Regions from separate parts of the Homo sapiens genome. Here region 1 is linked to region 2. The links are contacts of gene promoters, found by promoter capture Hi-C in blood cells and fetal thymus (Javierre and others, 2016). All regions are on one chromosome and are shown on one strand. Each heading gives the region's core, a stretch centred on a gene start or on the middle of the fragment in contact. The rest is flanking DNA. Distances are from core to core; before and after follow the strand shown. Region 1 holds the start of HOOK1 (hook microtubule tethering protein 1). Region 2 holds the start of USP1 (ubiquitin specific peptidase 1).

What was found. Contacts are between HindIII fragments. The CHiCAGO score rates a contact against its expected background, and 5 or more counts as called.
Region 1: a contact is called between a fragment that was not itself captured here and the fragment with the promoter of USP1 in region 2, in 1 of 17 cell types (naive CD8 T cells). The highest score is 5.8, in naive CD8 T cells.

The regions. Positions count from the first base shown.
Region 1 is chr1:59,814,739-59,821,716 of GRCh38, forward strand. It overlaps HOOK1 (hook microtubule tethering protein 1), which reads left to right and starts at 211. Exons shown (of 22, transcript NM_015888.6): 1 at 211-442. The coding sequence starts at 380. LOC105378758 (a long non-coding RNA gene) reads right to left here and starts at 128. Exons shown (of 5, transcript XR_947426.3): 1 at 24-128. RefSeq lists a silencer at 1-278 and an enhancer at 515-1,078. The HindIII fragment of the contact is 167 bases long and covers 5,646-5,812 here.
Region 2 is chr1:62,432,359-62,439,180 of GRCh38, forward strand. USP1 (ubiquitin specific peptidase 1) reads left to right here and starts at 4,691. Exons shown (of 9, transcript NM_003368.5): 1 at 4,691-5,042. RefSeq lists enhancers at 3,158-3,925, 3,608-3,957, 3,926-4,693, 4,518-4,587 and a silencer at 5,288-5,347. The HindIII fragment of the contact is 3,360 bases long and covers 3,287-6,646 here.

The sequences.
Region 1 (6,978 bases), core at 4,479-6,978, 2.6 Mb before region 2:
CGCCCGCCCCCCCGGGTACCTACCGTCTCTGTGACTGGTGCGCGGCCAGGTCACTCAGGGCGGCGGGGCGAGGTGTGCGGGAGTGGGCAGGACGGGTGGGAGGAGGGGAGGGGTGGGAGAAGGCGGGGCTCAGGTGCCTGGCAGCGCGGCCGGGGCCCAGGAAGGGGAGGGGGCGAACGCTGGAGCGAGGCGGGGGCGGGTGAGGAGGGGGTGACGCCGGACGCGTCGACAGCGCGAGGGTTCGCGCGTGAGCTGCGCGGGTCGGGCCTGGTACCGAGCTTTCCTGGGGGCTAGCAGGTCGTGGACGCCGGCTCCTGGAGGAGAGCCGGTAGGAGGGAGTGTGAAGGTGTCCGCGGCGTCGTCGACGGCGGCGCCGGCCATGGAGGAGACGCAGCCGCCGCCGCAGCCTAAGCTGCCCCTGTGCGACAGCCTCATGATCTGGGTGAGTGCGAGGAGGCGAGAGGGCGAGGGGGCCAGGGGGCCGAGGCGAGGAGCCTGGGGCGCCCGGTTCTCCCAGGTGAGCTGGGGCTACCTGCACAGGGTCCCGGCGCACCCTGCCCTTCTCACCTCGTGCCCTTGACCGAGAGAATGCCACCTGCGGGTCGACGGGCAGGTGTGTGGGCGCGGGTTGGTGTCCGGGGGTGGGGGTAAAGGAAGCTCTGGGAGCGTAACAGTGGAGGCTCTGGTCTCAACCAGAGGATTCGACCTGCCTGGTGCCCTAACAGCTGGGATATGAACCAAGCACCCATCCTCTTTTCTCCCCGCTGCCCCATTTTCTCCCCCTGAACAGCGCCCGAGCCCTCCACTTTCTGGATCGCCGACTCTCTTGCCTTGGTCCGCTTGGGCGTGAAGACCCTTTCCGAAACCTAACCCTGCATCCTCAAACTACCTTGCTCTACCTGGACACAGGTGGCCAGGAGGTGGCTGGCTGTTTTAGTTCCCGGACCAATGCTCCTTCAGGACTCTAGAACATCCGATTTTGTAGAAGCCGCTTCAAAGAGATGTTTGTATTTCCCGTATGGAGAAAAAGATGTGTTGGGAGTCGGGGGTCGTTTTCCCTTTTTCTCGCTGGCCCTCTCCTCCTCTAAATGGACAGCATTTTCTTTAAAGAAAATGAGTTGACATTTTTCTTTAGGATTTATCTGTGTTTAGGATTTTTGTTAATTTGTGTTGGGTCTGGACAGGCATATCTGTCCCCAGATTGTTCAATATTCCAGTCAGCAAAATGACATCCCACCTCTTAGAGTTACTTAGATATCAGTGCTGGCATTCAGGTGTGGTTCTTAACCCATATTGAGTAAAGATGGTGTTTGATGAGCCACAAGGTGCTGTTGATGATGCTCATCCCAAACCAGTTGTTTAGTTGCGTCTAGGGGAGTGTGTGCAGATGGAATGTAAACAGACGGGATCAGGAGGCTGTAATCGGTTGAGATTCCCTAGTGATCTAATGCATCTAATTCCAAAGAATGAGAAATCTAGGTTTATGGAAATGTGTGAAGCCTATTGGAAATAGCCATAATTTAAAGCATTTACACTTTGTAAGTAAATAACTTTTGCTTTTAGTGGAATGCAAATATTTAGGGTTTGTGAGTTAAAAGCAATTAGCTAACTGTTCAGCTGAATTTTCATTTGAAATAGGTATTGGGGTGGAAGTGCTGTATTTAAGACTGTCGTAGAAACAAGGCAACATTACTTTTAATGATTTGTTTTGTTAAAACAGACTAATTAAAGGGTGTATCCGAATCTGCTACATTATTGTAAACCTCAATTGACTGAAGTGTTAAGCTTAGTCTTTATGATGTCATTGATTTACATGTGAGGTGGTGGAGAAGCACAGGATTTTCTTTTGTGTTGTAATATTTTAAAATATTATGTGACTGTATCCACTCTTTTAACCAGAATTTATTGACTTCCAATGTTGAGCTAGGCACTGGGGAGGACTGGAGTGGTAGCCAGAGCTGTGTGTAATTACAGTGGAAGGTAAAATTCCGTAAAAGCTGCAAATATGTTGTAAACCAAATGATAAGGAATCACAGATAACAGAGTAAAATTGGTCGTTTTCTTCAGTCCTCTCTTGGGCTGCTGAGCACTGTGGAGAAAATTGAATGACCGTGCAAACTGTTGCCTCTACTAATGCTGTTACTGTCAAACGCACCTTTTCTCCTAACATTGCCCATACTTAAGAATAACCAGACAGTTTCTCTCACATTCCTCTTAGCAAACCTTTATCAGTATTCTACCTGAGCCCCCAACTCTTATTCCTCTGGGGCAAATGACCACCTCCTTATCCTTGGCTCTGGCTTTAGACTCCATCCCTTCCACCTCTTTTAAAACGTTATTGTATCATTTGTTCCCTTTCTGTATTTACAACTACTTTCTCTCCATTGGCTCCTTTCTCTGTATGTATAAACTTGCTGAAGTATTCCCCTTTTTTAACAGAGAACAAAGAGCCACTATTCCGTGTTAAAGTCATACTGTATTTCCCCTTTCCTTCACAGTAAAATTTGAGTTGTTTTATTCTCACCCTTTATGCTTCACTCTCATTCAGTCTTCAACCCACTACCCTTGAGTTTCTTTCCTCTAAGACTTTCACTTCATTACCAGTTTGCTAAATCCACTAAGTGTTATATTACCATTTTCTTACTTGATGGTTCCTTTGTGAAATTATCTTGTCTTGGTTTCTGGTTATCTTGTCTGTTGCCTTTTCTTTACCTCTTTAGATGATTTCCAGTGAAGTTTACTGTCTTTTTTTTTTAATTAACTAATTATTTTTGCCTTTGCCAGCAACCGCACTGTTGATCTTACCTCACCTACCCAACTTTCTCCAAACTCACCTCAAGCAACAGTTCTTCAAGCCTATCATGCTGCATTGACTTTCTATTTGTTGAAGAAGCTAAGCTGTTTTAATGCATCAGGGATTTTTTTCCCTCTACCTAGAATATTCTCTTTCTAGTTCTTCCAGTGGTTGGCTGCTTCCGTCATTCAGGTCTTGGGTCAGATGTTGCTTTTCAGGGACTCTTTGTTACAACCATTTCTAAAGTTTGTCTCCCACCCTTATCCCACTGTAACCTGTTAACCTCTTTCTGTCTTATCTATAACACAGTACTTTCTAAAGTAATCCAGTTGGCTTTTGGGATCAGAGCTCTTACATGACCTATTTTCTGCTCTGTCCCTAGGAGAACACTGACAACTATTGCCAATAAGACACCAAATCAAAGTGGTGATAGTAAATATCATTGCCTTGGTTCTCACCTCAGAGACTAGTGTTTCACCATTAAGTGTGATATAGCTTAGTTTTTTATAAATACTTGGGAGTGAATTTTTAACTGGGTCATAGAGGATTGTTGGATTTCAGCAAGTAGAAATCAGTGGAAATTAGTTCTCCAGACACAGGGAAGAGACACTAGTAGTAAAACAAATGGTCTCCTTTGGCTATAGATTAAAGGGAGATAGTGGAACACACACATTTGTCATGATAACCCTGGCTCAAAGATAGAAGATTAAAAAAAGTTATGATGGGGCCAAATCATGGAGATAAGACAGTTGGGAATAACTCTTCTTTCAGCGCTAGGAGGAGAATGGAGCCAACATCAACAGAATTAGAGAAGTCATCAAGAAAAGTTAGTTATGTGAAGGAATGCCTCTTGTGGCAATTTTTTAAAAATTGCATTTTATGATTTGGAACTCACCGTCTTAAAATAATTGGCTCTTAGAAATGTTGTACTGCTACTTAGCAGAAAATTCAGGGCAAAAGGGTAAATGTGGGTATCATTTACATGTTGGAGGACATGTATGAGAGTTTGAAGAAATGTTTGTATAAAGATAAATTTAATTCTGCTACTTGGTTCTGTGACATTGGAAATTTGTTTAATATCTTTGGACCTTACTTTCACCAATAAAATTAGAAGGTTGGACCAAATATATTTAAATGTTTTTCTTGGTTCTTGCATTCTTTGACAGGCAGATGAAGGAAAGAGTAATAATTAATATATGCCTAAATTTAGAAAATTATTAAAACCTCAATTATTTTTATGAAGATCTTAAAACTTAAAGCAATGGTTGTTTTTTTTGTAATGAGCAGCTGGAGGAGGAGAATATGAAAATAAAGTTGATCCAAGATTGAGTTTTTGTTGGCTGTTGGTTGTGAAAACCCCATTTTCCTTGATTTCTGTGACATTTATATTAAAGTAGTTTAGGAACAGCATTTCCACATTTCTGATTATTTGTTTTATTTAGAAATATAGAAGAGAGTAAGGTAATTATTTGCCAGAACACTGTGTTTAGCGGTAGACACCTGTGGAAACCCTGTCTGTCTTTTTTGGGTCACTCACTAAAAAGACTTTAGTTAGAAAGAATACATTTTCTTTTGTCTGCTTTGACCTCACTCGCCCCAATAAGCATTTTTTTTTTTTTTTTTTTTTTTTTTTTTGAGGCGAAGTCTCACTCTGTTGCCTAGGCTATAGTGCAGTGGCATGATCTCGGCTCACTGCAACCTCCACCTCCCGGGTTCAAGGGATTCTCCTGTCTCACCCTCCCTAGTAGCTGGGATTACAGGCATGTGCCACCACACCCGGCTAATTTTTGTATTTTTAGTAGAGACAGGGTTTCACCATGTTGGCCAGGCTGGTCTCGAACTCCTCACCTCAAGTGATCCACCTGCCTCGGCCTCCCAAAGTGCTGGAATTACAGGCATGAGCCACTGCACCCAGCCTCCCCACTAAGCTTTTTAATTAATTCACTCTTCTTGGTTGTAAGCCTTTCAATTGAGTGAAATCAAATTACATTCTGTTTTCTAATTTATTTTGCAGCTATTTTAAGAACTTCTCAGAGACACTCCAATGTCCATGGCAGGAAGGAGGGGAAATTGATTTTAATCTGAACATAGTGGTCATGGAGGTAGTCCCTTAGCATGTGTACCTCTTATTTTGCCTAGTATTCTGTGCCTCTGAAATTGTCCTTTTAAAATCATGAATTGTGTCAATTTTGTAAAAAGTTAATGATGTAACTTCTAAGTTACACATTAAAAGTTAATGTTTAAGTTGGAAGGGCTGAAAAGTGGAAGTCACAGTTTATTTTCCTTTTAAAGATGCCCTAATTCTTGGAGTTTCTCTTCCCTGTACATCCACCCAGTTGCAAAATCCTTCTTATTTTGTATTTTAAATATTCCATTAATTCATCATCTCCTCTCAGTCAATATTATGCTGATTCCCTCTACTCTATTTTTGTCATCAGAGCCATTGCAGGAACCTTCTAACTGGTCTGCCTGACTCAGGCATAAAGCTACTCTGTGTCACTATCTGCTCTCCAAAATATGCCAAAGAATGTTACTCTTCCTTATTACTTTTCAGTGATTTTTCATCACCCAGAGCAGTGGTTCTCCAAAATTGACATATTTAAGAATCAGTTGGAGATTTTCTTATTTAATATGTCTAGAGATTCTGATACATATTGTTTCTAGGCCCTATACTTGGAGAAACCCTGACTCATAGCTAATGTGCTAACAGCTGTTGAGCTTATGCCACATGCCAGGCCCTGATATAGGTATATTTGCTATTTCACTTAATTCCCCAACCATCTTGTGAGGTAGAAACTACTCTACTGTTTCTTATTATGTAGATAATGCCATTAAGTGTAAAATAAGTCCAAGCTTCTTGTCATGGCCCTTTGGAGTCCTGTCTCTTTAACCCTGTTGGTTGTCACCCCTTCCCCAGCCTTCTTTGCACTGCAAATCCAGTGATACTGAACTGCATGTTCCCTAAAAATAATATCTCTTCTCATGTATCTGTACTTTTATCATATTCCTATTTCCTGAAGCTTTTTTTCCTTGACTATTTCTTTACTTAGAAAATATGCTACTCTTCCCTCTAGACCTTCCATTCAGAAATCATCTCCGAGAAGCCTTTCCTAAATACAAACCCTAATTAGATTAGTTGACACCCATTTTTTGCAGAACATTTTGTGCATACTGTAATCATGGGACTTACCATATTGTCTAGAAATGATTTATGTCTCTTCCTCCTCTCCTTAACTTTTGACTGAAGCTTTAAGGGTAGAAACCTGGTGGTTTTCCTTTGTAGCCCCATCATGTGCCACAGTGTCTCACATAGCGTAGGAGCTTAGTAAAGTGTCTCTGTGTGTTTTGAAAATAACTGGCTAGGTTTAGTTTGCTGGTATCATTCATCTGTGTTGTGTTAGATAATGGAGGTCTGAATCTCCAGTTGCCAACTCTGAAAATGCACAGAACCATTAAAAGTGAATTATGGCGGGAGAGAATTTTATTGGATTAAGATAGTTAAATGGTAAACTAAGAAATTATTAGTGAACAGTGAAATGGGTGAGTATGTGTGGGAAAAGAGAATCATAGTATATTTAACTTAAGGTGTTTATAGGTTGAGATTACCTTTCTAGAAAGTTTATGATCCATTTTAGCTCTGATGTAATTTGCTTTCTAAATTTTTTTCTATCTCATATTTGCTTATTGTAAAAAGAGGTTATTATTCCGCTTCTCTTCAATATATACATGAATATTTAACAGATATATGTGAAAAGTTAGTATACCTAAAGCCAAAATAGATAGAAACAACTTGACGTGATAGATAGGGCTTGATTCTTCAAGACGTAAGGCCAATTTTTAGATAGGAAACAGAAGTCCTGTCTTATTTCAGAGCTCATGGATAAACTGTAAGTAGGTTTAGACTTGACATTTCTAGCCTTTGTTTTTCTATCAAATGATATGAGTGAAATTTTAAGTTGCAAATGTTGGGTTATCTTTAAGTTCTTTTTCTGATGTTCTGCTAAATATAGACAAAACACAAGACTAGAGTTATATACCTGGTTTTGTATTATTCCAAATTATGTATTACTTATGCATGGCATCAATATGTTCTAATGTCCTAGGCATGATTTTGTGAAATGTTTAGTTTATTTTTATAAAGTTACACAGCCATAGAGACATATTAGCATAGTTCCATTTGTTTG
Region 2 (6,822 bases), core at 3,441-5,940:
TAATCTAGACTGCCTACTTCTGCATTATGTATACATGATAAAGACATGAATATTAATTTTAGCTAAGGACACTTAAAAATATTCTGTTACTTATAAACAAACCTATTCCTATCGGATGCAGAGTTTGGTTCCTATAAATTTGTGCTACACATAACCTTAAAAGAAATGTGGTTTTTAGTGGAAGCATTTGGGCAGTGGGTGGTAAAGACTCAGATACTGCAAGATGGAAAACTGGTGACCTTTGTTCTCCAGTTGCCAGACATTTGGTAAACCTGTTGCCAGCTTTAGAAGACAGATCACACGCCAATCAAAATTGTGGCACGAAGGGAAATGGCTGGAAATATCTATAAACTTGGTATTTGCTGGCTTTTTCTTGACACTTTAAACCAAGTTCTATGAGATATGAATTCAGGCCAGAAGTAACCAATTTGCATGTAGAAATGGAAAAGAATACAGTTTTGCTAAAGGAGAAATTCTGCTGTAATCCAAGTGGATTAAAAGTCTCATAATTTGGGCGGGACGTGGTGGTTCATGCCTGTAATCTCAGCACTTTGGGAGGCCGAGGCGGATCACGAGGTCAGGAGTTCGAGACTAGCCTGGCCAACACTGTGAAACCCCGTCTCTATTAAAAATACAAAAATTAGCTGGGCGTCGTGGCAGGCACCAGTAATCCCAGCTACTTGGGAGGCTGAGGCAGGAGAATTGCTTGAACCCAGGAGGTGGAGGTTGCAGTGAGCCAAGATCATGCCATTGCACTCCAGCCTGGGGGACAGAGCAAGACTCCATCTCAAAAAAATAAAAATAAAAGTTTCATAATTTGAAGATTTAAAGGGCGGAAAAAAACCACACTTCTTCTATACCTTTAGACTGAAGTACAGTTGGCCCTCCACATTCATGGGTTCCATATACATGGATTCAACCAACCACAGATCAAAAAATCTTATGAAAAAGGTACACAAAGTTCCAAAAAGCAAAACTTGAATTTGCCACGTGCCAAGTGTTAAATACTATGTTAAATCCATGTGAATGATGTGTAGGCATTGTATTAGGTAATTAAGTAATCTAGAGATGATTTAAAGTATAGGTGGGATGTGCATAAGTTGTATGCAAATACTATGCCATTTTATATATGGGACTTGAGCATCCTCGGATTTTGATATCCATAACGGTCCTGGAACCAATCCCCCATGGATACCAAGGGATGACTGTACACAGAAACAGTGCCTGTGAAACTTTGGAAGGAAATATGCCTGGCATTTACCCACACAAGACTGACAAATATAGGATTGAGAATGCTGTGAACCTATTAAATCCCATTGTTTCCAAAGGGATTAGCTGTCATTAAGAGTGGGGTAACTGGGGAGCACACAGAAACTGGGAAAAAAGTTTCGGGGCTTAAAAACTCATCTAGGCAAGAACTGTGGCTAGAATTTCTCCCACAAACAACTGACTGAAAGCAAAAGAATGAGAAGCATATTAAATTTTTACATTAATCATATTGCCAGAGACACACCAAACTTCTGCTATTGCTGTTGACAAGCACAGTTGTGGAGGTGTTTGATTTTTCTGAAGCAGCATTAGCAGAAACCTCAGTGTCTAGCCACTTGTCCTGTGGGCCTTGACAGACGGGACGTAGGATATGCATGGCACTGGTGCAGATCATAGTGGGTATAGTGTGGTTCTAGGGTCAGCGGTGCACGCAGCTTTCTGATGGTGGTTTCCTAGGCATGGCAGCAGCAGTGTGATTCAGAGACGTCATTTCCTGATCATAGAAGAGTCATTGCTTCCTTGGTGGCCTGGTTCTGGGAAGACTTTGGGACTCATTCCTGAAAAACTAATCTAGAGCCTATTTAATCAACCCTCCCAAGTATTCAATATCTTTGTGTTTATACTAGCTAAAATGGATTCTATTTTCCGCAAATGAATCTTAACTGATACCACACATTGTGTACAGGAAGAATAGTGGCTGCAGACAATAGGATCTCAGGAATATGGGAAAGTAGAATTGCTTATCTGTTCTCGTAGAGTTTGAAAGTAGCAATAATTATGCTAGTACTAGAAAATGAGACACTGCCACTCTGTGGTGCACAATGGCTAAGACTGACCTATATACATTTTCTAATCTTGTCCTTGTGTATTTCGTGATCTGCTGGTTCAACATCTGTTTGTACGTTAAACACCTCAATCTTAATATTCTAAGAACGATGATCCTTCCCATTGAGCCTACTAAGACCCCCATTTTAGCAAGGACCAACACTGAGTTGCTCAGGTTAAAAAAAAAATCGTTACTCTTTGTTTTTTTTTCTTTTTTCGGGTGGGAGGGTGGAGGGCAGGGCCTCACACTGTTGCCCAGGCTGGAGTGCAGTGGTGCATCTCGGCTCACTGCAGCCAGGGGATCCTCCTCCCTCATCCTCCCGAGTGGCTGGGACTACAGGCACGTGCCACCACGCACGGCCAATTTTTGGAGTTTTTTGTAGCGATGGGTCTTGCCATGTTGCCCAGGCTGATCTTGAACTCCTGGGTTCAAGCGGTCCACCGGCCCTGGCTACCCGACCTGTTTTTTCTTACATTATCATACAGCCAATCCATCAGTAGAGCTCGTTGGCTGTGCTCAAAATATATCTTGAACCCTACCAGTTTTCAACATCCCACCATCTTATTCCAGACTACCATAATTTATTCCTTGGCTTATTGAACCAGCATCTTGGCTGACCTTTCCGCTGGTACTTTTCTTTTTTTGAGACAGAGTTTTGCTCTGGTTGCCCAGGCTGGAGTGCAGTGAGGCGATCTCGGCTCACCGCAACCTCCGCCTCCTGGGTTCAAGCGATTCTCCTGCCTCAGCCTCCGGAGTAGCTGGGATTACAGGCCTGCGCCACCACGCCCGGCTAATTTTGTATTTTTAGTAGGGACGGGGTTTCTCCATGTTGGTCAGGCTGGTCTCGAATTCCCGACCTCAAGAGATCAGCCCGCCTTGGCCTCCCAACGTGCTGGGATTACAAGCGTGAGCCACCACGCCCGACCCTGCTTGTACTCTTGAAGGTCAACGTGTAATCCCGCCACTCCCCAGCTCAGAATCATCTAACGACTCCCATCTCCTTACTCGGCTTACCCAGGGTCCTGCCTTTCTCACTCATCTCATCTCCTCCCATCTTATTTCCCAAATTGACTGCGCTCTAAGCGCCCTGGCCTCCTTGCTTCTTTTCAAAACACCAACCACATTAAGCTTCAGGACGTTTGTAACTTGCTGTTCTCTCTGCCCGCACCATTCTTCCCTCAGATTCCTCCAAGCTTTTTCATTCAGCTCTGCTCAAATGTCAACTCAAAGAGGTCTTTCCAGGCTATCGTATCTATCACTTATCTTAGCGTCACTTGTATCTCCCTCTCCAGAATGTAATGCTCCTTTATGACAGGGAATGCCTTTACATCCCTCGCGCCTTGAAAAATGCCTGGCACATAGTAGGCACCTTAAAAATACTTGATTAAATGGATTTGGGCTGAACGTATCCTGCTTAACTGCAGCACTTGAGCTGAGGTCACCTCACCAAAGCAGGCACACAAACACAAAAGGAAGCACACAACCAGATGAGGCCTGCCTGCCGCTCCTGAACCCTTTGGGAGGGCTCGCGCGGGAACCCTGGGAAGCTCCCGCGGCCGGAGCTGGGCCTGAAACTGTTCTTTCGTTTCCTCCTGCGGCCGAGAAAGGGAAGAGGTAAACAGGCGAAAATGAGGCGAGCAGGGGCTGAGGACCGGGCCTCAGCTCTACAGCATTCGCCTGAGCATGTATTGTTATCCGTGGCAGCGCCTTGTCTCATTGGATGGCCCTAGGCCTAGTGTGGCCGCGACTCCGAACTGAAAGCCCAAGCGCGGCGGCGTCCAGCCGGGCAGCCATTTTCCGAAGCTGCTCTCTTGGTAACCCCGCCCGGGCGCGTACGCACGAACGGAGGCGGGGCTTACCGCGAGGGCCTCGCTCCGGAAGCCGCACCCTCCGCGGCGTCCCACCGTCGAGGATTAACAAAACGCCAAACAAGATTTTAACAGTCGGCAGCGAAAGCGCGCACTCGAGCGCCAATGAGAGCGGAAGGAGGGGCACCGCGCCTGAGGAACACTCCGTATGTCGAACAATGATTGGCTGGAGCCCACCTTTCTTCTTTTTTGCTATTAGATGGGCTTGCTGCTCCCGCCCATCTAATTGGCTTTGGTCTAGGTACTTCTGATTGGCTTCCCCCGGGCGGTGGGAGGCGCGGTTTTGGGGATTGTTCATCATGGATTGGTGAATTTGGGCTCCTTCTCGAGGTGGTGGCCCATCCCGTCTGCTCTCTGTCCCGTCTCCCGACCCGTACGCTTTTCCCTCAACTCGCGCGCACGAATGGTTAAAAAAAGGGTGTGAGGCTCGAGCCCGCCAGCCAGGCCGCTAGCACCTCGCGCGCGCCCTCAGCGAGGACCCGCACGAGCTGCCCGGCTCTGTGCCTGCGTTGTTTGAAACTGTGGAACCCGTTAGGCTTTTGGGGAACTACAGTCCCAGCTGGCTCCGGAGCCCGTGCGTGCCAGGGGCGAGTGGCCGTCGCGAGACGGCTCCTGCCTTTCGTGTCTCTGCAGCGTGGAGACTGGAACCGGCAATTTCAAAGGACGCCACGTTCAATCGCAGCGCTGGCGCGGGCGGAGGCTAAAACACGGGGGTCCTGAGACTGAGGAAAACGCGCCAAGTTCCCCTCGGTGGCGGAGTGCTAAAGACCCTAGCGGTTCAGGCGTTCGGCGAGCGGGGCCGCTGCTTGTTGCGCTCCTGGCTCTCCCGGGGCGGGCGCAGATGGGCGCCGCTCCCGGGATGTAGTTGGTGTTGGTGCAAGACGGGAGCGAGCGGCGGTCGGGGTTCCCGCTCTTGGGAGCGGATGGTCACTCCCCCGCGGGGAGGGCGAGCCGACCAGATTTTCCTGGGGCCGGGGACCCGGCGGGCTCGGGGCAGGGACTCACCTGTCGCACCCACACTCATTCGGGTTGGACTTGCCGGCGTCACCGCCGCGGACTTCGCTTTGGGCCATGACCAGGTAAGGAGGGCCTGGGAGGAGGGGCCGGCTCCCGGGCGCGGGGGCAAGTTCGGCCGGCGCGGGAGAGGAGCTGCCGGGGAGACCCCGGGACCGTGTTGGCCTCGCACCCTGGTCGACCTGCCAGGGGGAGCCGTGTGTGCCTCGGGCGTGGCGCCTGTCTTGCCGCCGCCGGGACGCGAGAAGGCAGGTGCGGGCTGGGCGTAAATAGGCCAACTCCGCGGCGAGGGCGCCCGGCGCGGGGGTGTGGGCCGAGGACGCCGCCGCCAGCCTCCCCCGACCGGGCAGCCTGGTCGCTGCTCGTCCTTCCAGCTTTCTTTCCGTTCCCGAGAGCGGTGAAGGATGGGGAGAAAGAAACGTTTCCACGCAGGTTGCCCTGTGTCGGTAATTGCGAAATTTTACCGCGCATTTTCTTTCACTTACACTTTTTCAAGAAGTGTTTAGAACGCCGCGTGTCTTAAACCTTGGCGAAGATGTCCTTGTAGATTTTTGTTGAAAAATCGGAATCGAGTCGTGTCATCTTATAAAGAATTTAAAACTATTGGGACTGAGTGTTCACGCTGTCAACAGATAATGGTCGATTCGTCGTGCTTTCTGCGAAAGTTGATTTAGTTACAGGAGAAATATTTTGGATGTAACAGCCCCCCAGTTACAAGGAAAGCCAGGAGCAAGAAATAGCAAGGAAGATACTGCACCTGGCAAAATGTTACATTCTCGGTGTGAGCTTTGCTTTGAGGGGCTAGGAGGTTTGGTTTTTTGATTAAGCTGACGATCCGCTATTTCACCTGCCTAATCATTCTTCCCTTCTGTGTAGTCTGGTTACTCTGTCGGTTTGAGATCCAGTTTCTGTCATCCATTAAATTGGCTCTCGAGAAAAACCTTTTATCAGAATCATTAATGCTTGGCGATCCCTGAGAACTTAGCGCAGGTTGGTTTATCATTCAGAAGACAGCGCTTCCTCAGAAGCATTAGGTAGACAGGAGAGTAAGTGAAGTTGGAGACAGAATGGAGAGATGGATCAGCTTTCCAGTGCTTCCTGATTTGGGTCTCAGAAATGGTTTCAGTGTGCTGAGTTCAGTATGAATTCCTAGATCAGTGTCAGCCATGTGAAATGCTTATTAAGGATGAAATTTGAGTGAGTCTTGTGTAGTTCATTTTATTACTCTGCATTTTAAATTTGAAACTCGTTGCTGAAGTTTTGGGCTTTAAGTAATTTTATGGTAATACTCTAGTCAGATAATTTTTCCTCCCATGTCCTGAAAAATAGGCCTGATGTAGAAAATATTAACTCCTACACTCCTACAAATGTTGCCATTTTTTTTCACGTGCAAGTTTTACTTTAAAACAGGGTGGGAAAGTTGCAAATGGCAAACCAAATCATCTTTTTTTCCTACTCAAAGCACTATTTTTAAAATCCAAAGTTTTTTAAAAAGTTTGGAAAACGAGTATTGTGGTTTCTAGTGCATTAAGAATTGGATTTACACAAAGTGCATCGAACAGTTTTTTTTATCACGGTCTCAACTTTGCTTGTGTTTTATCTTTCACTTACGGTTTTAGGTATAACTTAACACCATCTCTATGCCTTGAATGCAAATTATTCTTTAATAAGCTTTTTAGGTACTTTATTTTCATATATCCATGTTAATAACTAGAAAAGGCATTGGAAGAGAGGACTCATCGTCCAGCACTACTTTGATTTTCCATTCATCCTTTCCTACCTTGTACTTGAGAATTAGAGGTGGTAGTGCTCAGTCAATATTTTCTGAATGAATCATTATAATGA